7 separate regions of the Homo sapiens genome follow, and all the other regions are linked to region 7. Evidence: promoter capture Hi-C in 16 types of primary human blood cells and fetal thymus (Javierre and others, 2016). All regions are on one chromosome and are shown on one strand. The core of a region is centred on a gene start or on the middle of the fragment in contact, and the rest is flanking DNA. Distances in the headings are between cores, read along the strand shown. Region 1 has its middle 9.2 kb from the start of ATP6V1H. Region 2 overlaps ATP6V1H (ATPase H+ transporting V1 subunit H). Region 3 overlaps ATP6V1H (ATPase H+ transporting V1 subunit H). Region 4 overlaps ATP6V1H (ATPase H+ transporting V1 subunit H). Region 5 overlaps LOC105375841 (a long non-coding RNA gene). Region 6 overlaps LOC100129098. Region 7 holds the start of MRPL15 (mitochondrial ribosomal protein L15).

Evidence for each region. Contacts are between HindIII fragments. The CHiCAGO score rates a contact against its expected background, and 5 or more counts as called.
Region 1: a fragment that was not itself captured here is called in contact with the fragment with the promoter of MRPL15 in region 7 in 13 of 17 cell types (endothelial precursors, megakaryocytes, activated CD4 T cells and 10 more); the score reaches 10.2 in endothelial precursors.
Region 2: a contact is called between a fragment that was not itself captured here and the fragment with the promoter of MRPL15 in region 7, in 2 of 17 cell types (naive CD8 T cells and non-activated CD4 T cells). The highest score is 6.3, in naive CD8 T cells.
Region 3: a fragment that was not itself captured here is called in contact with the fragment with the promoter of MRPL15 in region 7 in 3 of 17 cell types (naive CD8 T cells, neutrophils and fetal thymus); the score reaches 6.8 in naive CD8 T cells.
Region 4: a fragment that was not itself captured here is called in contact with the fragment with the promoter of MRPL15 in region 7 in 1 of 17 cell types (activated CD4 T cells); the score reaches 6.1 in activated CD4 T cells.
Region 5: a fragment that was not itself captured here is called in contact with the fragment with the promoter of MRPL15 in region 7 in 4 of 17 cell types (M1 macrophages, M0 macrophages, M2 macrophages and 1 more); the score reaches 7.4 in M1 macrophages.
Region 6: a fragment that was not itself captured here is called in contact with the fragment with the promoter of MRPL15 in region 7 in 2 of 17 cell types (megakaryocytes and endothelial precursors); the score reaches 7.2 in megakaryocytes.

The regions. Positions count from the first base shown.
Region 1 is chr8:53,850,899-53,853,988 of GRCh38, reverse strand. It overlaps a transcript of RGS20 not described here. Among named protein-coding and RNA genes, the nearest start is that of ATP6V1H, 9.2 kb to the right of the region's middle. The HindIII fragment of the contact is 819 bases long and covers 1,027-1,845 here.
Region 2 is chr8:53,809,282-53,812,308 of GRCh38, reverse strand. ATP6V1H (ATPase H+ transporting V1 subunit H) reads left to right here. Exons shown (of 14, transcript NM_015941.4): 7 at 1,092-1,145. Among named protein-coding and RNA genes, the nearest start is that of ATP6V1H, 32 kb to the left of the region's middle. The HindIII fragment of the contact is 1,924 bases long and covers 714-2,637 here.
Region 3 is chr8:53,825,898-53,828,783 of GRCh38, reverse strand. All of the region lies in intron 4 of ATP6V1H (ATPase H+ transporting V1 subunit H), which reads left to right. Among named protein-coding and RNA genes, the nearest start is that of ATP6V1H, 16 kb to the left of the region's middle. The HindIII fragment of the contact is 3,324 bases long and covers 1-2,886 here.
Region 4 is chr8:53,717,907-53,720,789 of GRCh38, reverse strand. The region is part of intron 13 of ATP6V1H (ATPase H+ transporting V1 subunit H); the gene reads left to right. Among named protein-coding and RNA genes, the nearest start is that of ATP6V1H, 120 kb to the left of the region's middle. The HindIII fragment of the contact is 653 bases long and covers 1,136-1,788 here.
Region 5 is chr8:54,436,578-54,439,584 of GRCh38, reverse strand. All of the region lies in intron 1 of LOC105375841 (a long non-coding RNA gene), which reads left to right. Among named protein-coding and RNA genes, the nearest start is that of SOX17, 20 kb to the left of the region's middle. The HindIII fragment of the contact is 4,847 bases long and covers 1-3,007 here.
Region 6 is chr8:54,465,339-54,468,175 of GRCh38, reverse strand. LOC100129098 reads left to right here. Exons shown (of 2, transcript XM_041680557.1): 2 at 634-2,582. The coding sequence ends at 1,388. Among named protein-coding and RNA genes, the nearest start is that of SOX17, 8.8 kb to the right of the region's middle. The HindIII fragment of the contact is 2,492 bases long and covers 166-2,657 here.
Region 7 is chr8:54,133,752-54,136,511 of GRCh38, reverse strand. It overlaps MRPL15 (mitochondrial ribosomal protein L15), which reads right to left and starts at 1,271. Exons shown (of 5, transcript NM_014175.4): 1 at 1,121-1,271; 2 at 1. The coding sequence starts at 1,228. The HindIII fragment of the contact is 13,913 bases long and covers 1-2,760 here.

The DNA of each region.
Region 1 (3,090 bases), core at 187-2,686, 280 kb after region 7:
ACGTTCCCTCTTTCTGCCTCTATATATGTTCTTAGACATTATTTCACGTCTACCTTAGATTTCACTGCTTTCACTCTAACACTGGGCTTCTTCAATTGTCTTACCCCATAGTGATCATATTCCTCCCCTAATATCTTACTGATTGAAAGAATATACAATAATTATGTAGGTATCTTATGTTATTGACATGAGTCATGCTGATAATATGCTATATGTTTGTCTTTCTCAATACACAGTAAGTCTCTAGAAAGGAGGGAGCATATCTTGCTCTTTCTCTTTATTCCCTATGGCTCCTAGCCCAAGGTTTTGCAGTTAGTAAGGATTCAATGGTATCTGCAGACTCAAAATGAGTTGAGTGTTTCCATCCTTACATTTGCTAGATGAGGCACATGTCTCCTCTTTCTGTATTCAAATGCAATATAAAAAGATTTTTTCAAAAGGCAAAAACTGAGTGAAGGAGCCAGTAGCATCCCAACTGGATTGCTTCCTTCTACCCTCACCTGCTGCTGTACAGACTGGAACCTGTTAACAGGTTAGTGAGGTTAGGATAGAAGTTAGGCTGCCCAGCACCAGCATGTGTGGTCGATTCCAGGATGCCATGGGAAGGTGTAATACTGATTCTTAAATATTTTTGCATTTTATTTGTCTTTGATTCCACTTAGAGCATACCTTCTCAAGATAGTTAGAACTTTGAAATTATATATATGTGTGTGTGGGTGCATATACATACACACATATACAACAGCATACATATGCACCATACAATGGGTATATTTGTTGTTGTTGCTCTCTGTTTCCTCAAAGTAGCCTCCACATTCTGCCTTTTAGAAATATCTTTTGCATGTGTCGCCTACATTAAGATGTCCATTAATTCAGGACTCTTGGACACTACATCCCATTTCATTGCAGCTTGCTAAACTCTTAGTGCTTAGATGATAATAGGCGGTGTGGGAATTCATGTGTTATTTGTTCACATATGTCTGAAAGCTCAAAAGAACAGGTCCGTATATTTTTACAGAAAAAGCTTTGTGTTGACCCTTTTTATTTTTTTTTTCCCCTCCACTTGTGCCAAATGGTTAAAATAACATTAGGAGAAAGGGCAGACCTAGAGAATTTTGTAAAGAATTTGCAAATAAATAATGATATCAGGATATGAGCCGCGGCAAAAGAACAGGTGAATTTTCTGGTGTTAAAGTATTTGAACAGTTTTATAGTTTTGCAGCATTTAATTTTGAGTGTGCTCATTGCTTGTTAGACATTAACACATGTCCATATTCTATGCCAAGTAACCTTTTATGAGATGGTTCTATTAATAGCTAAGAGGATTTACAGACTCAAACTGTATTTTTTTCAAATATACACACAACATCCAGCAGGAAAATTGTCACTTTTTGGAGAAATAATGTTATTACCTACTGATAGAAACTCATGCTTAGGAAATTCACCTTTGGAAACTTTGAATTTGGAAAAAACACCCCTCAGCTCCTTAATGTTCTTATGTTCTTAGTTTATCAATTTTTTCCCAAGGAATTTTTTGTAGAAAGCGGTCTATAATTTTTCTTTCATTATTATATGGGATGTAATATTTATATCGGAGAAAGATATCCTAGGGCTAACACTAATAGCCACAAAATCTGTCTAGATTTGTTGAATGTTATCACCTGAAACAAGCAAACAAACAAAAAAGCAATACATAATAATTTATTTTGGTAAAGGGAATCTGTTTAGATTGGAGAAAACTAGATAGATCAGGTAATTATCATCTAGGTTCTAGATTTCCCTTGGGGATGGTTTGAAAACATTTTTGATAAAACATTAAGATAAGTGAGCAATGGCACTAAAGCTTGAGTATAGTTTTATATTCTTTCTGGGTAAACACTTTCCCTTGACGGGAAAGGATCATGGATTGTGGAAATCACCTTACCTTGATATCAGGAACAGCCCTGAGGTCTCCTTCATTTTCTGTGATTTGGTGAATGTCTGTATTATATCTCTGAGCCCTGAACAGGGGCAGAAACTGTGTCCATATAGACGGCCTGGAGAAATGTTTCTGGAGGCACTCTTGGTTATCTTGGGAAAGCTGGGGCATGTTTTCACAATAAAGGCCCCAAATGAGTCCTGTTGCCTGGTTTTCCCAATATTAGCACAGGATCCACTCTGCTTCTCTTTGTTTGGTTAATGCTGGGCTGGCTCTGAATCTGTGGGGAGACTTCTCCAAAAGTTATACTAATGAAAGCAAAAGGATTACCTGCTTTGTGGATCAGCAGCTTATCCACAGATCTTTCATGTTCTATTCCTGGTAGAGCTGCTTATTTTGAATGTCTAGGTACTGTATGTTATGAGTGCCCTCTAAAGGCAGAAATGTATTCTTAATTAAAATGTAATCCTAAATCAAAATGGAAAGAAATGATCCAAGTGATATACAGCTTAGCATATAGTGATAAATTAAATAGATTGTTTGGCAAAAATTCTTGTGTTAGTGGTGTGTGATAGCCAATAGTACTTGACAATCTTGGGCTATGCAATTGACAGGCAGATGGTTGGCTTAATCTTTCCAGGTTTCTTAAAAGGTCATCTTAATAGCAGTCATCTTTGTAGCTAGTAACATATGCAAAACTCATACCCAAACTTAAACTCAAGAATTATTATTCTTTTTACATACATCATGTGGAGTAAGTTAAATTGATTTTCTTATGAGATGACTAGGTACCCAATGAGTAAGCCAAGAATTGGCTTCTAACACTATACTTCATATTTATAAACTGCTTTATAAATATAAGATTATTAAACAGAGTGGAAAAGGTAGAATACCTTTCTGTCAAGAGGCAACTAATGCCCAATAGCTTCTGTTGGGTTTGAGGGTGCACAAAGGTAAGGGATGTGTATTACTGGGGTCTATGAACTGGAAAAGTTTCCTTTTGTAAAATTGCTTTACAGATTCAACACAATGGCTATCATATGTCAGCTCCTTTCTTTTGCAGGAGTTGATAGTTGATTCTAAAATTCATATAAAATTATAAGGGGCCGGGTGCAGTGGCTCACGCCTGTAATCCCAGCACTTTGGGAGGCTGAGGTGGGTGAATCGTGAGG
Region 2 (3,027 bases), core at 426-2,925, 320 kb after region 7:
TTGGCTTTAAGTTGTGGACTTTAAATTGTGCAGTGCCTCTGCTTTGCGGGTCCTTCTGCTGCAGGGGAACTCTTCAGGGTACCCAGGCTTAGCCTGGCCTTGCTTCTTAGTCTGGCTACTGCTTCTGCTTGGCTCTCATTGCACTGTCCCTCTTGCTGTGGGCAGGCACTTCTTCATAGCCTTCTATCATGATTAAAATTCAGACTCTTCGTTTTAAAAAGTAACAATTATTTGTGATATTACTTGCTACTTTGCTCAATTGTCATGCGATAGTGCTACATCTAGAGTGTCTCTTTTTTCTCTGTCACAAGTGTTTTTCTCTCTCACAAAAAGTACCACAATTTCATGATTCTAATAGAAATAAACTTTCAAAAGTCCAAGTTAGCTGCAAGTTTAGATGTTTTGTTCTTTGACCTTATAGTGGCCTTTGAAGCCTTTTTGGGTAGTTTGGAGCGTTGCACTTGGGTTGTGGGGACTCATGCCTGTACTTCATAGATAGTAGTTATTGAATGATACAAAGTTAACATTTCCTTTCAGAAATTCATTATTGCTTTTCTCTTGCACTTTCAGCCTCTGACTTTCTTTAAATTTTCTTTGGTCATTTCTATATGACATTTGAGATTTTGATTGTCATTATAATTCATTAGCTTTGCTGTGGATAACCAAGTCACATATTGTACCTTCCTGACATCAGGCACCTATTTTTGAAAGCTTTGCTACAGAATATAGTGTGGATAGTTCAATTTAAGGCAGTCATTTTACTGGAAAAACAATTCAGTAAGTAAATCTTAAGACTTGGAAATTTGCACTAGCTTTACCCATGAAATTTACCTGGAGCTTAGTAGTCAGTTTATTATTGTTCCATTTTTAGCTACTTACTGATTAATATATTATCTGGAAGAATGTAACGATATTTAGAACATTTTATGTCATCCCCTTGCTTTTTATTTAGTAGGATTAGGAATAAAATTATAGGGGAAAAATTATTACATAGAATTAGGGGAAAAGTTTGCTTAGCTCCCTTTTGTAAGCTGATACATTAGGATAAAATCAAAACAAAACTAAATAATGAGTTATTTATTTCGTAATAGAAACTGCGTGGTAGCGGTGTTGCTGTTGAAACAGGAACAGTCTCTTCAAGTGATGTAAGTATATTCCTTCACTGGCCTAAACATCCCCAAAATAAATTATTTTGAGTCATATACACTTAAAATTTTGAAGGTGTTTACTAGTTCCCCAACTATAAATCCATGGTCACCTCCAGTTAGGTTAATTGTATTATAAACTATATATAAATATTGATGGTCTGTGGAGATCATCTTTTCTGTGGTAGACATAAGACTTGTTCTTTCCCGTTGCTCTTTTTTCCAGGTGACTTTTGTTTCAGACCTGAGAAACAAAGCAAAAATCAGAATTCAGAAGCACAACTGGAGCAAATAATCATAAAGTTTTCTCTTTAAACTTCAGTTATCTGATTAAACTGTCTAATATCTGTCTAATCAAAAGGTGAACAAAAGCGTCAAACATTTGAAAGAAATTCAGTTACTTTTATTTATTTATTTATTTTTTGAGACACAGTCTAGCTCTATCCCCCAGGCTGGAGTGCAGTGGCACAATCTCAGCTCACTGCAACCTCTGCCTCCCAGGTTCAATTAATTCTCCTGCCTCAGCCTCCCGAGTAGCTGGGACTACAAGCGCCCGCCACCACACCCAGCTAATTTTTGTATTTTTAGTAGAGATGAGGTTTCACCAAGTTGGCCAGAATGGTGTCGATCTCTTGACCTCGTGATCCGCCTGCCTTGGCCTCCCAAAGTGCTGGGATTACAGGCATGAGCCACCACGCCAGGCCTTCTTTCCACATTTTTGTAGAGCCAAAAGGCTCTACATAAATACATAAATAATCTACATAATTAAGATTAATTATGGCTCCCCAAGTTCCTTTCTTGGCTAAAGTTACGTTTTCCATTTGGGAATGGCTGAACTTTGCTGTGCTCTAGGAATAGCTCAGGAACTGGAAGTAAGTTTGGACAAGTTAACGATGTTCATGATGAGAGCCAGTTGATAGAAAGTTAGGGAAAACGGAGACAGAAACAGAAGTGTGTCTAGCTTCCTTTGTTGAAAGTATCACTAGGAAACTAGGAAGTATCTTTAGAGGGTAGTTTCTGTAACCTGCCTGCAATAGACCCAAGTGAAGCTCTGTAGGAGCCATTTAATATCCATATTGGTTGCTGGTACTCCCATAATCTGAATGAATGTCACGGGTATGTATGTTCCAAGACCATAGATGGCAGCAAAATCCATTTTGAAGCTGGGCTTCTCTTGGAGCATGGGTTGAAGTGTTTGATGACTCATATGTTAGGCCAGAAAATGGCTATTAGCCTTCTGAAGTGGAATCAGAACAAGGTATAGAACTAGATACGCGATCCTGGGGCCATGGTGGGCTGAGGAAATGGTAGGTAAGAAGCCTCGTTTCTCAATCAGAAGCAGATGTTTACATTGAGAATCTTTATTTTGCTTAAATTGAGAGTCTTCATTTCATGTGTCTTGAATTTCTACCAGTTTGAAAAATTATTTAGCTTATTTTAGACTTACAAACTTATTTAAGTGGTTGTCAAAGTATTTTAAGTTATTAAAGCTTAAATAAGGAAATGCAAACTCTGCTGACATGACATCCTTATTTTGCTATTTTCTGTGCAGTGTATTAGAAAAACAAAATTAACTGAATTGGTGGTGTGTTGGTCTAAGTGATTTACCTGGTAGATTCATATACATCCCAAATGGAATTCACATCAGGAGTGATTGTGAGTTAGGAAAAGATGGCCTTTGGTTTCCTACCTTCTTCCCTTTAGTGACTCTCAACCCTGAACATATTTTTGGACTCTTCCTGAAGTTCTTACTTTTTTAGATGGCTGTCTACTTGAAAAGCAGACCTCCATGTGTTGAGAGTAGGGTGTCAGCCCTTCCTTTGATTCTTATATTTCCATAGGGGAATCTTAATATAGCAGCTAATATTCATTGAGCACTTAA
Region 3 (2,886 bases), core at 26-2,525, 310 kb after region 7:
GGGAGGGTTGTTCTATTAACTTATAAGGAAAAAAACATTTATTGATGGCCTAATTTTCACCAAGCACTGTACTATTATTGATAATACAAAGGTTGGGCAGAATGGTGCTGTCTTCCTAGGGGTCATCATGTCCTTTATAGGAATCTAGTGATTTTATAATGTGAGGAAGGATCAATATCAGGACTGTCTTGAGAATGACCTCAGTCTCTCTGAGCACTTTTTCATGTAAAACAGTAAAGTTTAGAAAAATGTGAATGTTATGATCTGCCATGGTTATCTTGTTACTGTATGGGACTGTACCTAGAATGAGGGAGCTGTGAGTCGGCATGCGGACCGTGGTTGCTCATATCCTTAATTACTGTCCATATGCTCATATCTATAAATTAACACCATGACATGCTGGTAGCTCCCATTACATTTCAGCGCAGCACCACAGGGTTCTTTGTCTCTCCTTTCCGTATGTGTACCTCTTCTGTAACAGTGAGATTGTGAGTTCCTCTTATCCTCAGTGTGTTTACTTGTTTGTTCTACCCTAAAATACACAGAAAATAGTTTCAGAGTTGTGGACCCATACAACTCAATTATCGAGGAAAGCAGTGTGGTGATTCTTCAAAGAGCTAAAAACAGAACTACCATTTGACCCAGCAATCCCATTGTTGGGTAGATACTCAAAGGAATAGAAATCGTCCTACTGTAAAGACCACACACACGTGTTTGTTCGTTGCAGCGCCATTCACATTAGCAAAGACATGGAATCAATCTAAATGCCCATCAATGGCAGATTGGATAAAGAAAACGTACATATACTCCATGGAATACTATACGGCCATAAAACAGAATGAGAGCATGTCCTTTGCAGGAACATGGATGGAGCTGGAGGTCTTTATCCTTAGTAAACTAACACAGGAACTGAACACCAAATACCACATGTTTTCAATTATAAGTGGGAGCTAAATGATGAGAACACATGGACACAAAGAGGGGAACTGCAGAAGCTGGGGTCTACTCAAGGGTGGAGGGTGGGGGGAGAGAGAGGATCAGAAAAAAATAACTATTGGGTACTAGGCTTAGTACCTGGATTATGAAATAATCTGTACAACATACCCCCTTGACATGAGTTTACCAATATAACACACCGGCACATGTACCCCTGAACCTAAAATACGAGTTGAAAAAAACACATACACACAAAAAACAAGTCTTTTACCTGGAGTTCAGTATTTGTTTGCAGTTTTTTGTTTTAAACTCAGGGTATATAGTCAGAATACTGTGTTCAAGTTTCAGAGTGATTATTTTTCATGAAATACTGTAAGAGTCATTTGTTTCTGTTGTATTCTATTTTAGTTTTTTCCTCATCCTTGTGCATTTCATTATTATTATTTTTATTTTATTTATTTTTTTGAGACAGGATCTTGCTCTGTTACCCATGCTGGAGTGTAGTGGCGTGATCTCGGCTCGCTGCAACCTCTGCCCCCTGGGTTCAAGTGATTCTCCTGCCTCAGCCTCCCGAGAAACTGGGATTACAGGTGCCTGTCACCATGCCTGGCTAATTTTTGTGTTTTTAGTAGAGACGAGGTTTCACCATGTTGGCCAGGCTGGTCTCAAAACTCCTGACCTTAGGTGATCTGCCCACCTCGGCCTCCCAAAGTGCTGGGATTACAGGAGTGAGCCACCATGCCCAGCCTGCATTTTATTTTTGAGTATGTAAAACATTAACATGTTTCCAAAAGTCAAAACTATGCAGAAAGGTATACTCAGAGAAATGTCACTAATCCTAGCCCATTCCCACCTCCCTCTCGTAGGTGACCAATATCATAGTTTTTTTTTTTTTTGAGACAGAATTCCGTTCTGTCCTCCAGGCTGGAGTGCAGTGGTGCAACCCCCGCTCACCGCAACCTCTGCCTCCTGGGTTCAAGCAATTCTCCTGCCTCTGCCTCCAGAGTAACTGGGATACAGGCACCCGGCATCATTCCTGGCTAATTTTTATATTTTTTTTTTTAGTAGAGACGGGGTTTTACCATGTTGGCGAAGGTGGTCTTGAACTCCTGACCTTAAGTGATCTGCCTGCCTCGGCCTCCCAAAGTGCTGGGATTACAAGTGTGAGCCACTGCGCTCAGCCCAATATCATTGGTTTTTAATTTTTTTTTTCTGTGAACATAGACAGGCAGACACATGTATATTTTTTTATTTCCCCCTCTTATTTCTATAAAACACTTATTAGATATAATCTCTTATTTTTTGCTTGTTTCACTTAACAGAATATGCCAGAAATCATTACGTGTCAGTTCATAGAGATCTCATCTCCCTGTTCTGTTTTTGACAGCTACATGGTACCCCATTAGTGGATGTACCATAGTTCACTCAGCCTCTGATGTAATGATGGACATTGTGGTTGGTTCCAAATTTTAGAATTAGAAATCATGAAGCAAAGAATAACCTTGTGCAAATATATTTTTGTGTTGTTGGGTGTATATTTCATGGTAAATTCTTAGAAATGGGATTGCTGGATAAGAGGTAACTCCATATGTAGTTTTTTTTGTTAAGATATTGCCAGACATTCCATTTTGCATTTTCATCAGCAGGGTGTGAGTGCCTGGTTCCCTGTAACCTTCTCAACAGAGGGCATTGTCAAGCTGTTACATTTTTGCCTATCAGAATGGTGTCCGAGGTTGAACATCTTTAGATGACCTTAAAGGTTGCTTTTACATTTTTTTCCCTGAATTATTTGCTCATGTCTTTGCCCATTTTAAGGAGTTCTTTATATATTAGGCATATATCTCTGAACAAAGTGCAAATATTTTCTCCCAGTTTGTTATTTACCTTTTTGTCTTAGCTTATAACATTTTTCACAGGGTAAAACAATTTATTTTTATTTTTTATATAGTC
Region 4 (2,883 bases), core at 213-2,712, 420 kb after region 7:
GAAAATAAAAGAGACTTAGTAGTTTTCATTGATTAATATATTTGTCAGTAGAAAATCACTTTTTTCCTATCACTAAGTTACACAGCTGAAGTTACCATGTGTCAAGTTATATAGGTAAAGTTAGCATGTTGAAACACTATTATAGTCAGTGTCTTCAATTATAGTTTTAAAGAAACATTTGTAATGTTTGAGTCTTTAAGCAACTAAATACACTGTGAAGGTAAGGCATTTGATTAGAATGGGTAATGGTCTTCCTGTTGTTTGAAGAGTTACTATAGCTAAGTAAGTGCTTCCTGGTGCCCTAGCTCCTAGCAGAATAGAAGCTAGATAGTCAGTCACCTTCAGAATGCCCCTGTCAAGCCTCAGGCACCTTGTGCCTTGTGGGAAGTGGAAGTCAGTTTTTCAGTGTTTCTTCATCAGATGTAAACTCTTTTGCAGCAGTATGATCTCTTTTGTGAGCCGTTTATGTACTTGGGTTTTTAAAAAGGGGAGTAGGTTTTCAGACTGCCCTTTTTTCAGTTTCAGAGATGTTGAGATCCCAGGAGATTTCAGGTGTGGATGAAGTTAAAGAGAAGAAAAATATTGCACCTCACAAATTTTGCATCTTAGGTGGCAGAAGCAAAGATTTAATGTCACATTCCTATAGATTGCTTGTATAAGTCAGGCACCTTTTGACTGAATTATAAGTTGAAATTTTATTGTATTGATCTTCATGTATTGAGGATGACTCAATACCCAGATTAATTCACAAAAGATCTCCTTGCATCCTTTGTTCTAGATATATTATTATCCCCTGAGGTAAAATCTATACTAGTTTTTGCTTTTGCCTGACAGTAGTGTAATTTTAACCTGAAGAAATTTTTCACACCCACTTGTTGTTTTCTAATTTATGAAAAAGGAAGTGTCTGCCTTCTGCACCTTTCTGAGCTCTTACTGGAAGCCAGGCAGCTCTGGAATAGAATAGGACCAGAGCCCTGAGTAGGCGCTTTGCTCACTTAGCTCTTGGGCAAGTTAATGAAGTTTTCTGAGGCCCTGTTTCCTCTTTTGTAAAAGGGAGAAGATATTAATAATACCCAGCTCACAGGGTGCTCTAAAATGAGAGGGGAGAATGTGTGGGCATACCTGTGATAAAGCTTCCATGGTGGCTCGGAACGCGGTCCAGATGGCAACAGCCATCCTGTGTTCCCAGCTTCAGGCCCTCGATGGCAGGACCCCCTGTGCCTGGCACAGAGGATTCAGAGGCAGGCTTGTGTCCCCCAGTCTTGGGAATGTTTTCATTGACTACATAATGTCATTCGACATTCAGGGGAGCAAGCTATAGTATTTTATAAGCTGGCCAGGTGCAGTGATCCTAGCACTTTGGGAGGCCAAGGCAGGCAGATCACGAGGTCAGGAGTTCGAGACCAGCCTGGCCAACATGGCAGAACCCCATCTCTACTGAAAATACAAAAATTAGCCGAGCGTGGTGGTGCGTGCCTGTAATCCCAGCTACTCGGGGGGCCAAGGCAGGAGAATCACTTGAATCTGGGAGGTGGAGATTGCAGTGAGCTGAGATCACACCATTGCACTCCAGCCTGGGCAATAAAGTGAGACTCAGTCTCTAAAAAAATAAAAATAGAATAAAATACATAAAAGCCAAGTTCGAAGGAGTGGATTTTCCCCAAAGTTCGTATAGGTTAGGTGTTTTTAATACCCTTTTCAGTGGAGCCACAGTTCAGTTCCTCCTGGTATGTTAGAAAGCCATCTAACACCCCACATGCCATAACAAACAACAATTTCAAGAAAGCTTGAGGAGGAAATTGTATTCTTCTTTCCATGAATCCTGTCTGGGCTCTTCTCTTGCTGGGCTTTTGGCATTTTGACCTACAATACTCAAACCAGGCTCACAAAGTTCCACCTGGGGCCCCTGATGTGCAGGTTCTTAGTTGGACCCTTTTTCATCTATATGAGTCCTTGTTCTTCCCCCAAATCCAAATTACATGAACTGTCAACTAGGCAGAAGAAAGGAGGTGCTGATTTTTCTATGTGTCACGTACTTAGGTCAGGAAGAAGTAGATGCCTCCGGGCTACCTTGTATGTACGAATAAACGAGAGTGAGCCTGGCCGGGTATGGTGGCTCACGCCTGTAACCCCAGCACTTTAGGGGCTGAGGCAGGCATATCACTAAAGCCCAGGAGTTAGCGTCCAGCCTGGACAACATGACGAAACCCTGTCTGTACAAAATATACAAAAATTAGCCAGGCATGGTGGTGAGCACCTGTAGTTCCAGCTTCTCAAGAGGCTGGGGTGGGAGGATGGCTTGAACCCAGGGAGGTCAAGGCTGCAGTGAGCTGTGACTGCACCACTGCACTCCAGCCTGGGCAATGGAGCAAAACCCTGTCTCAAAAAAAAAAAAAAAAAAAAAATTGTGTAGGAGAGGATGTTACCTGTAATTTATATCTTTGACCAGGAAGAAAAAAATGAATGGAAGATGGTAGGGTGGAAGCTGTGGCTGCATGTGTCTTTACGTTCTCTGCTGGAACAGCGCACCTGTGCTAGGTTTTACTGTCCTACTTTGGCCCCACTTCAAGAGTGTTTCTTTTGTGAAGAAATCAATTATCTTCACCACTTGTTGTCTGCTAAGTATTAGTGAAGTCTGATATGGGGAATGAACTACCCTCAGGCCTCTGGAAGGGATGGAGCAGGTGGGAGCCTGTCTGTGACCAGACGCACAGGACCCTTTGTGATAACTTACCAGTTCCCTGCCTGAGCTCCTGGAGGCTTTCCCATACATTCTTATTAGTCATTTTTGGAAACTTACATTTAGAAGTTGGTCCTTGACATTGGTGCTTTAGGGAGAGAACCACGTCTTACTGTCATTGGAGAGTGGCACAGTGTCTTTGA
Region 5 (3,007 bases), core at 53-2,552, 300 kb before region 7:
GTTCCAAATGACAATCCAAATTATTTATAAGCATTTGCAGACCACTCTTTTATAAATATAACCATTTTGAATGTTTTATTGCTATAACAACAGACATTAAAAACCTTTAGAAACATGATTAACAATACCATGAATCTAGATAAGGGATAAATGGAGGTTTTCCGTACAATGTTTTTTAGCCACTCTTTTGTAAATTTGAAAAGATTCCCAAATTTTAAAAAATTATTTAAACACGAAACCTTAAAAACATTATGCTAACTGAAAGAAGCCCATCACAAAGGACCACAAATTGCCTGATTCCATTTATATGAAATGTTCAAAATAGGCAAATCTGTAGACTTATGAGTTGCTTAGGGCTAAAGGATAAAAAAAAGCGTTGAGGGGTGATGGCTAAAAGGTGTGTGGTTCTTTTTGGGGTGATGAAAATGTTATAAACTTGATTATGGTGATGATTACACAAGTCTGAATATACCAAGAAATCAGTGAACTGTACACGTTAGATGAGGAAATTGGTATCTAAATTATATCTTAATAAAGCAGTTATTTCAAAAATTAAAAGTCAGAAACAATCAAAAGACATAGATATTAAAAGTCTTGTTTGAAATTGAAAACTGGTTGAAAGGTGCAGCCACTTTACATAGCACCAGTCAAGATTCTTTCTTTCCCCTCCCCTCCCGGACGAAGCACATTCCACATTCCCAGTAAATGGATTCTCTCCTCCTCCAGGGTGGGTAGTAGAAAAATGTTCTAGCACATAAATGAATCAATTTATGAGTAGTCAGGATAATGTTAACATCTGACAAGTTTGATTTTAACCTTTATCTGTAATTTTGTGTCTTATGTTCAACGTGAATTCATAGATATTTCTGGAAGAGCTTTTGCCTAAGACATTGTACAAATCAATTCAGAATTCTGAATGGCATGCTTCCTTTCTTCCCATCTTCCTGCCTGGAATGGGTAACATGAGTTTTCACTCTCTCTTTCTCAGTTTTATTAAAATTAAATGGCAATGAAGGTTTGTGCAGGAATATTGATGAACTTAGAGAGATAAGTTTACCTTAAGTTACCCAAGTTAAAAATGACATTCAGGTAATCACACGGATGGAAGAAAATCCACTTAACATACAACCCTTGTTTCCCTGATTATGTATGGGCTAGTATTTTTTATCAACTTTCCACTCCCTTGTTCATTTTGGGAGTTAGTGAAGTATTCCAGATGAATTTAGCTTCATGTTCCACTATATTGAGTAAGGGTGGGATTGGATGAACCTGAAAAATATTTGTGTAGGAGGAAATTTTTATCAGTAGTCAATATTCCACCTTTTTACATAAGAAATGAAACAATTTTGCAAATGGATTTAAAAGGCACATAGCCATGTTCTGTGTGAAAATGTTTTCTTCTGGTGCCTGTGGACTCTGACACAGAGAATAGTTATTTCTCTGCAAATTGAGCTTTATACTAACCAGATTGTTTTTATTTAACCATGAGTGTCTGTGACAATATGACAAAACATGCAAATCGCTAGAGAGTTCTGCTTGGGTCCAAGAACATATCACTTCAGCATGGATCAAGACAGCAAAGTGCAGGTGATGTGGCATCATTACCACGCAGAGGGTTAGCAAATGATTTTACCAACTGCAGTTTAAACATCTTATTTGTCCTTCCTTCCTCAAAGGGGAAACATGTTTTCTAAAATTGATTGTGGTCGTTTTTCTGTTTGGAAACATTTGCTAGAAGAGAAAATAGGAGTTCTAATGTTAAATGATTAACCAAGGGCTTATTATTCAGTTTTTAAATTTATGAAGATTTTTTTTCTACCAAAACAAAGTGTATTATAGTCAGAATGAATAACTTTTACTCATTTCAGGGTATTTTATTACCCTATATTTTGAAGAAGTTAGTCATTTTTATTTGGGACCAGAAAAAAGAGTCAGCCTTTTTTTTTTTTTTTTTTTTTTTTTTTTTGAGACGGAGTCTCACTCTGTCGCCCGGGCTGGAGTGCAGTGGCGCAATCTCCTCTCACTGCAACCTCCGCCTCCCGGATTCAAGTGATTCTCCTGCCTCAGCCTCCCAAGTAGCTGGGATTACAGGTGCCCGCCTCCACGCCCAGCTAATTTTTGTATTTTTAGTAGAGACGGGGCTTCACCATCTTGGCCAGGCTGGTCTCGACTCCTGACATCAGGTCATCTGCCCGCCTCGGCCTGTCAAAGTGGTGGGATTATAGGCGTGAGCCACTGCGCCTGGTCAGAATCAGACTTTTTGATAGCCAAATGGATGATTTACCTGTGCCCACTTTAACCTCCTTCTGATATTCCCGTAGGAATGGAATTCTCTACTTCTGTAGAACCAGATAATTCCTAATATAAAACATGAAAACATTGTGAATAAATTTTAAGATCCAAAGAAAGACAGGCTTATTTTGTGGTTCCCAAACAAGAAACAAAACCAACAAAAAACAACAACAAATTTGAATTTAAAATTGTGTGTCTGCTATTGTAATTATTCACATGTGCTTATAAACACACTCTGCATTTCTGATTTCCCTGGATTACCCTATTTATATAGAACTAAAATTGCAGCTTGGGCAGCATGCCACTCTCATGGCATAGCAAATTAGACTTGGATATCCCAGAAAGTGGAAGAAGGTTTAATAATTATAATTCATAGCAAATTAGACTTGGATATCCCAGAAAGTGGGAGAAGGTTTAATAATTATTGTTTTGTATAGTATTCTAATTTTTCATATATTTTTTAAAGTTTACACAATTTCAGAAGACATAGCTTCTTAATATTGTCACATAGCATATTTAACTCAAATGGGGTGACTATCAGTAGAACAGATACCTGTTCTATAATATCACCTACACTAAATACTTCTATGTTATAGTTTACAATCTCAATTTGAATTTTGAGTTATCAGAGGCAAGATAATTTTCTAGAAGGGCCAAGCCATTCAGTTTTGCTTAAGATCAGCTCTGAACTTGGTGACACTCATGAATCCCAGAA
Region 6 (2,837 bases), core at 162-2,661, 330 kb before region 7:
TACCCTGTCAAAAAATAAACAAACAGAAAAGCCGCTCCCTATTAACTTCAAAAGACTCTGGAAAATTAACTCGATGTGTGCACAGGTAGAGGCCATCCTCTCCCAAACTTCAGCAACAAACTAGAGCTCTAGATTGCAACCTGGCTAGCTTGAAATTCTAAAGCTTTAGGCGTTTTCCTGAAAGGCTGTTAAATGTATTTCTAGCTCCATGTGTGGCGAGCAGTTAGAATCTGTAATAACTCAGCACCCATCTCTCAATTCCTTACTCAATAAATGAACAAGGAATACAACTTTTTTTTCTTTTAACTTGGAATAGGGGCATACTTTTTAACTTGGAATAGAGCTGTTTCGTTTTTGCAGAACCTGGCCTAATTAGGCGGCACATTAAAACCTTTCTCCCAAGACTGCAAAATTTTGTGTTATCGTTTATACCTGGAGATAATTAACAATTTGGTTTTGAACTTTTTATTTAATGTCATCTCCAGCTCCCAAGACGAGTCTGCAATTGCCGGTCAAGTCTCCCTAAAGGGAAACACTAAATATGAGAATCGCTAAACACGAAAGAGTTTTCGGAGGTAGAGCCACCGACCGGTTCTTGAGGATGTTCGCCAAGCCCGGCGTCTCCCCGCGCAGAAGCCCAGCCCTCCCACGTCCGGGGTTCCCGGCGCCCGGGTTCCCCGCGCTCCGCCTCCCCCGGCGTCGGGCGCAGCTGGGCGTCAAGCTGGGCGGGGGTCCCTCGCCAGCCTCTGGCGCTCGACCTTCGCCCCACCTGGAAGGCGCCGGATGCGAGACTCGCCCTTGGCTCGGCCCGCGGCCCCGGCCGGCGCCTCGCCCTTCACCTTCAAGTCCCCGAGGGAGCTCGGCAACTCGGCCCAAGGACAGGGGCCCAGCCTAGCCGTCACCGCCGGCAGCGCGCTCCGGGTCTGGCTCTGGTAGTCACTGGCGTATCCCGCATCCGGCCTGCTCACGGCGCTCCAGGCCTGCCCCGCGCGCCGAAACCCTCCGCCGGACGCGGAGGAAAAGAAGGTGGTGAGCGAGGCACGGAGATGCTCCGACGGCTGCGCGGGTCTCCGAGGCCGAACCGCCACCCGCGTTCCGGGCCAGTCCCAGCCCACGGCGTGGCCAGCGCTGCCGCCGGTCCAGCGACACTGCGGGCGCCCCCGGGCCGCGGGGCCTCTTCTGAGACCATGTGGCCCACAGAGAATCTAAGCTCCCGCCGCCGGGCTCCACCTCAACGGCGGAGAACTCGGGCGCCGAGCATCGCCCGATCCCTACCCGGCAGCGGACGGCTACAGGGTTTGATTTTCCCCTCCACAGGAAAGAACGTGCAGAGGCACAAATCCCCTCCTCTTCCCTCAGAGGAAAGCCTGTCCCAGCGGTCCCGCTGAGAACTTCCGAAGCCTTGGCGCGGCAGGCAGGCCCCTGAGCCGGTGCACCGCGAAGTTGCATTCTCACCTTCGAGTCACCGTGGCTTAGGCCGAGTAAACGAGCACTTCATCTAGCGCCGGGCGGGCCCCGGCACCAAGCTAAGAGCTCAAAACTCCTCGAAGCGGGCGCGCGACGTCGCGGTCCGAGCTCTCCTCGCCGCACTCCCCCATCAGACCTAAGATCTTTTACCTTTTAAATTAAAGTGAATCCAGATCCTTGTTAATGCGGCCTAATGTAGCAGCGGGAAGAGTGTAGGTCCCTGGCGAGGGGAGCGCGCTCCGGTGACCTCTAGCGCCTCAGACGCCCGCGCAGGAGGAACTCCCGCAGCCCGCCCGGGACCCGAGGGCAGGAGGGTGCGGGGAACGGGGCTGCCACTGCGCCTAAGCCTTTCCCCTTTTATAGGCTTTAGGGAAACAAATCCTCTTTTCCTAGTGGATGTAAGAAGTGAGTGAATTTAAAGTCACAGCCACGGCGGTAAGCGGCCCCAATTGTCTGGGATTCATAATGCTGTTAATATACACACGTATATGTAACAGCACTTTGCAGGTATACATACATATATATTATATGTATTTTTTTTCATATGACGTTTGCATCAATATTCTGCGTGCTGTCCCTCCCCCACCCCAACCCCAATCTGTTTTTAAAAATCCACCTCCGCAGAAGAGGAGAGGAGTGCTTCAGGGAAGGGTGGAGGCATCCATGTCCTCACCTTTCCCAGTGAGGAATCGAGACTTCCCGCCTTCGCGATGGAACTAGAAAAGGGTATGTAGTCCTGGACTTTAAAAGACAATTAACAGAAGTGGAAATAAGGATGTAACTATATTCCGAGGAAGAGCGGGCAGGAAATTCTTAGCTGTCGTAGCAGAAAGTAAATGTCTAAAACTCATAAGCCTAAAATTAGCCATGCAGGTACATTAATTAATTAACCACTAGACAAGCAGAATTATTAATGTAGGTAATGCCCAGTAGGGGGAAGAAAAAAGGAATTGATTCTGACCTGTGGCACTGGGGCTGGGGAGAGATGGAAACTTCTGACAACTCTGTTTATATTACAAGCCCGTCTGCAATGTTGTTTGAGTTGTTGTAAGCGTGTGCATCATTTACATTTTTAAAATTATTTTTAAATGAATAAAACAATAATGTTTTCTATATCCACAGTCTCGTTATTGAAACTACAAACCTAAATTTTTATTTTCTATTTTTCCTTCCTGTTATCTCAGTAAGCTTTTTCAGGTCAATATTCTTGGTGCGCATGTGTGCACCTCTGATCCTTACTATTGTATTCAAACGTCCAAACAAATATTTATTTTAAAAAGCAGAAAAATCCACTATATAGGGGGCAGCTATAAAATTGCTCCTTCCATTTTGCTGGTGTCTACTAATTTTCTTCTATCAGTCCGTCCATA
Region 7 (2,760 bases), core at 22-2,521:
CCTGCAAGGAAAAAAAAGAATTTTATGAATTTCAGATGCATTTCTAAAAACTGCATTTCAGCTCTTCACTTTTTGTTATGCTGTTCATTCATCCAGCCCACCAGTGCTAGCTAACACTATTGTGTCAAGCATGTCCTAGTTGCTCAAAGCTCCACACACTCTGTTAGCATCTTTGCCTCTAAAGACATAGCTAATTCTTGTAACCAAAGTCCAAGTGTGTTTCAAAAGCAAAAAGTAAAGGTTAGGATGGGGATAAGGTTTTTATAATAGGTTGAAACCGAAAAAAATCCTAGAATTAAATATTCACAACATTTTAAATGATAGGCAAGAATTTATTCTGAAATTAATTGTAAATATGCAAATGTTATTCATAAACCTGTAATTTTATTTGAAAACTGATCTGTTGAAGAAAATCTTTTCCTTAATTTCCTGTCATTTCACGAAAGCAATGAACTGACTGTTAAAATGACAGTACATTGTCAACTAACAGCTTTTCTAGCTCTATTTAGTCAACTGCAGAAGGGACAGCTGCAATTCAGATCTTTCCAATGAACATAAAGATACACCGGGAAAACATTTCATTTTAAATCCAATTTTGAATGACACAAAGACTTTGTAGTTTCAGCGAGTCGGCTTCTCCGCCTGGTATCTTTACACTTGTAAACATAACCTTATTAAGAACTGGGTGCGGCCGGGGGCGGTGGCTCACGCCTGTAATCCCAGCACTTTGGGAGGCCGAGGCAGGCGGATCGCGAGCTCAGGAGTTCAAAACCAGCCTGGCCAACACGGTGAAACCACGTCTCTACTAAAAATACAAAAATTAGCCGGGCGTGATGGCGGGCGCCTGTAATCCCAGCTAATCGGGAGGCTGAGGCAGGAGAATTGCTTCTGGGCGACAGAGCAAGCCTCCGTCTCGGAAAAAAAAAAAAAAAAAAAAAAAAGAACTGGGTGCACGTGGAAAGATTCCCCTCTGGGCAGTAAGGGAGAACAGGCATGAGGCAATCCTATTTTCATCCCAACACTCTCCTAGAAAGGGCAGTTCTCCTAATGACAGGGAGAGAAGGGCCGCTTTCATCGCCCGGGTCCCCAGCGCTTCCCCGCACCGCCACCACCCATTTACCGGTTTCTTGGAGCCGGGATTCGGCTTTAAGTTGGCCAGGCTCACACGCGGCAGGCCCCGGAGTAGGTCCAGGGCCCGGGCCCCACCGCCCTGCAAGGGACCGGCCATAACCCGCAGATCCAAGAACTTTCAAGGGCGCCCTGAGCTGCTCGGAGGCCACGTGGTCTCGGGGGCTGCTTTGTGGCCGTGGCCCCGCCCCTGTCGCGCTGCAGCCGCGCGCGCAAGCCCGGGAGTCGGGCAGAGGCGTGGGAGTCTGCAACCTTGTCTCGGTTGTCCTTTTAGTTGTTTGGGGATGTGATCTTATTTTCCGAGATCCTGCTTTGTCCTCGGGGTCCCTTTTAATATTCTGAACGTAAAACCTTCTCTTTCGCCAAACGAGAGCATGCACTAAAAACACTGCGTTAAATAAAGGATCTTTTTTGAGTCAGTGTTGGGCCTTGCCTGTTTGTCTAGGCCGTGTCTTCTCTGAGGTCAATGCAGAACCCAGAGTAAAGCAAAGTGAGCTGTCAATTATTAGCTTTTGAGCTTGCGTAATTATACACCGTGAGGTACGAAAATAAAACTGAGTGCACCTATCAAAATGCCTGGCTAATAACCAATCTTTGAATAAGACTCAAAGTGTGAACTCTCATCCGTGTGCATCTGTATTGTTTTGAGTGAATCGCAGTTAGTAACCACCTATTGTTAATGACTGGCGCCATACTGAATGCCTGGTGTATGCCAGACGCTGTATTAAATAAGCCTTACTCGATTTACAGCCATTCTAGAGGTAAATGGTGTTACTACATTTTACAGTTACAACAGGGAAGGCTTAGCAAGGTCCGATAGCTTGACCAACTTCTTGCAACAAGCGGCAGAGCCAGGATTCAAACGTACACTGCTTCCTACTATAAAAGTAGTATTTTTAGAATGTAAAATTGAGTATCTGCATCACAAAATACGAACATTATTACTCGAAAAATACCAGCTCTTCTTTTTTCTCTCAAGTGACTTAAATATAGAAAAGACTGTTCCTTTCTTTTTCTTTCTTTTAGTAGTGGTTTGACATTTCACTTGCTGGGGAGTTTTTTCTGCTAGCTCTAACTAGTAATCACAAATAATGAAGGTGAGACAATTTTTGGAGGGCGTCTGTCTCTAGGTATAACTGCGTCTTTTTAAAGTTCCTTTAAATCAAGTGTAAAATAACTACATAAAGAAAAAGTTGTATTCATTCCTTCAAGTACTATTTATAAGTAAGACACTGAACTTGTTGGAAATACACATGGATGAACTCAAATAGGATTTCATTCCCAAGTTGTTTGAAATCTAGTAGGGAACAGTTTCCAAAAGTGAATTATTATTATTATTATTTTGAGACAGAGTCTCGCTCTGTTGCTTAGGCTAGAGTGCAATGGTTCAATCTCAGCTCACTGCAACCTCTGCCTCTCTGGTTCAAGCAATTCTTCCGCCTCCGCCTCCTGAGTAGCTGGGATTACAGGCGTTCACCAGCACGCCCCGCTAATTTTTTTTTGTATGTTTAGTAGAGACGGGTTTTCGCCATGTTGGCCAGGCTGGTCTCCAACTCCTGGCCTCAGGTGATCCCCCTGCCTCGGCCTCCCAAAGTGCTGGGATTACAGGCGTGAGCCACGGCGCCTGGCCCG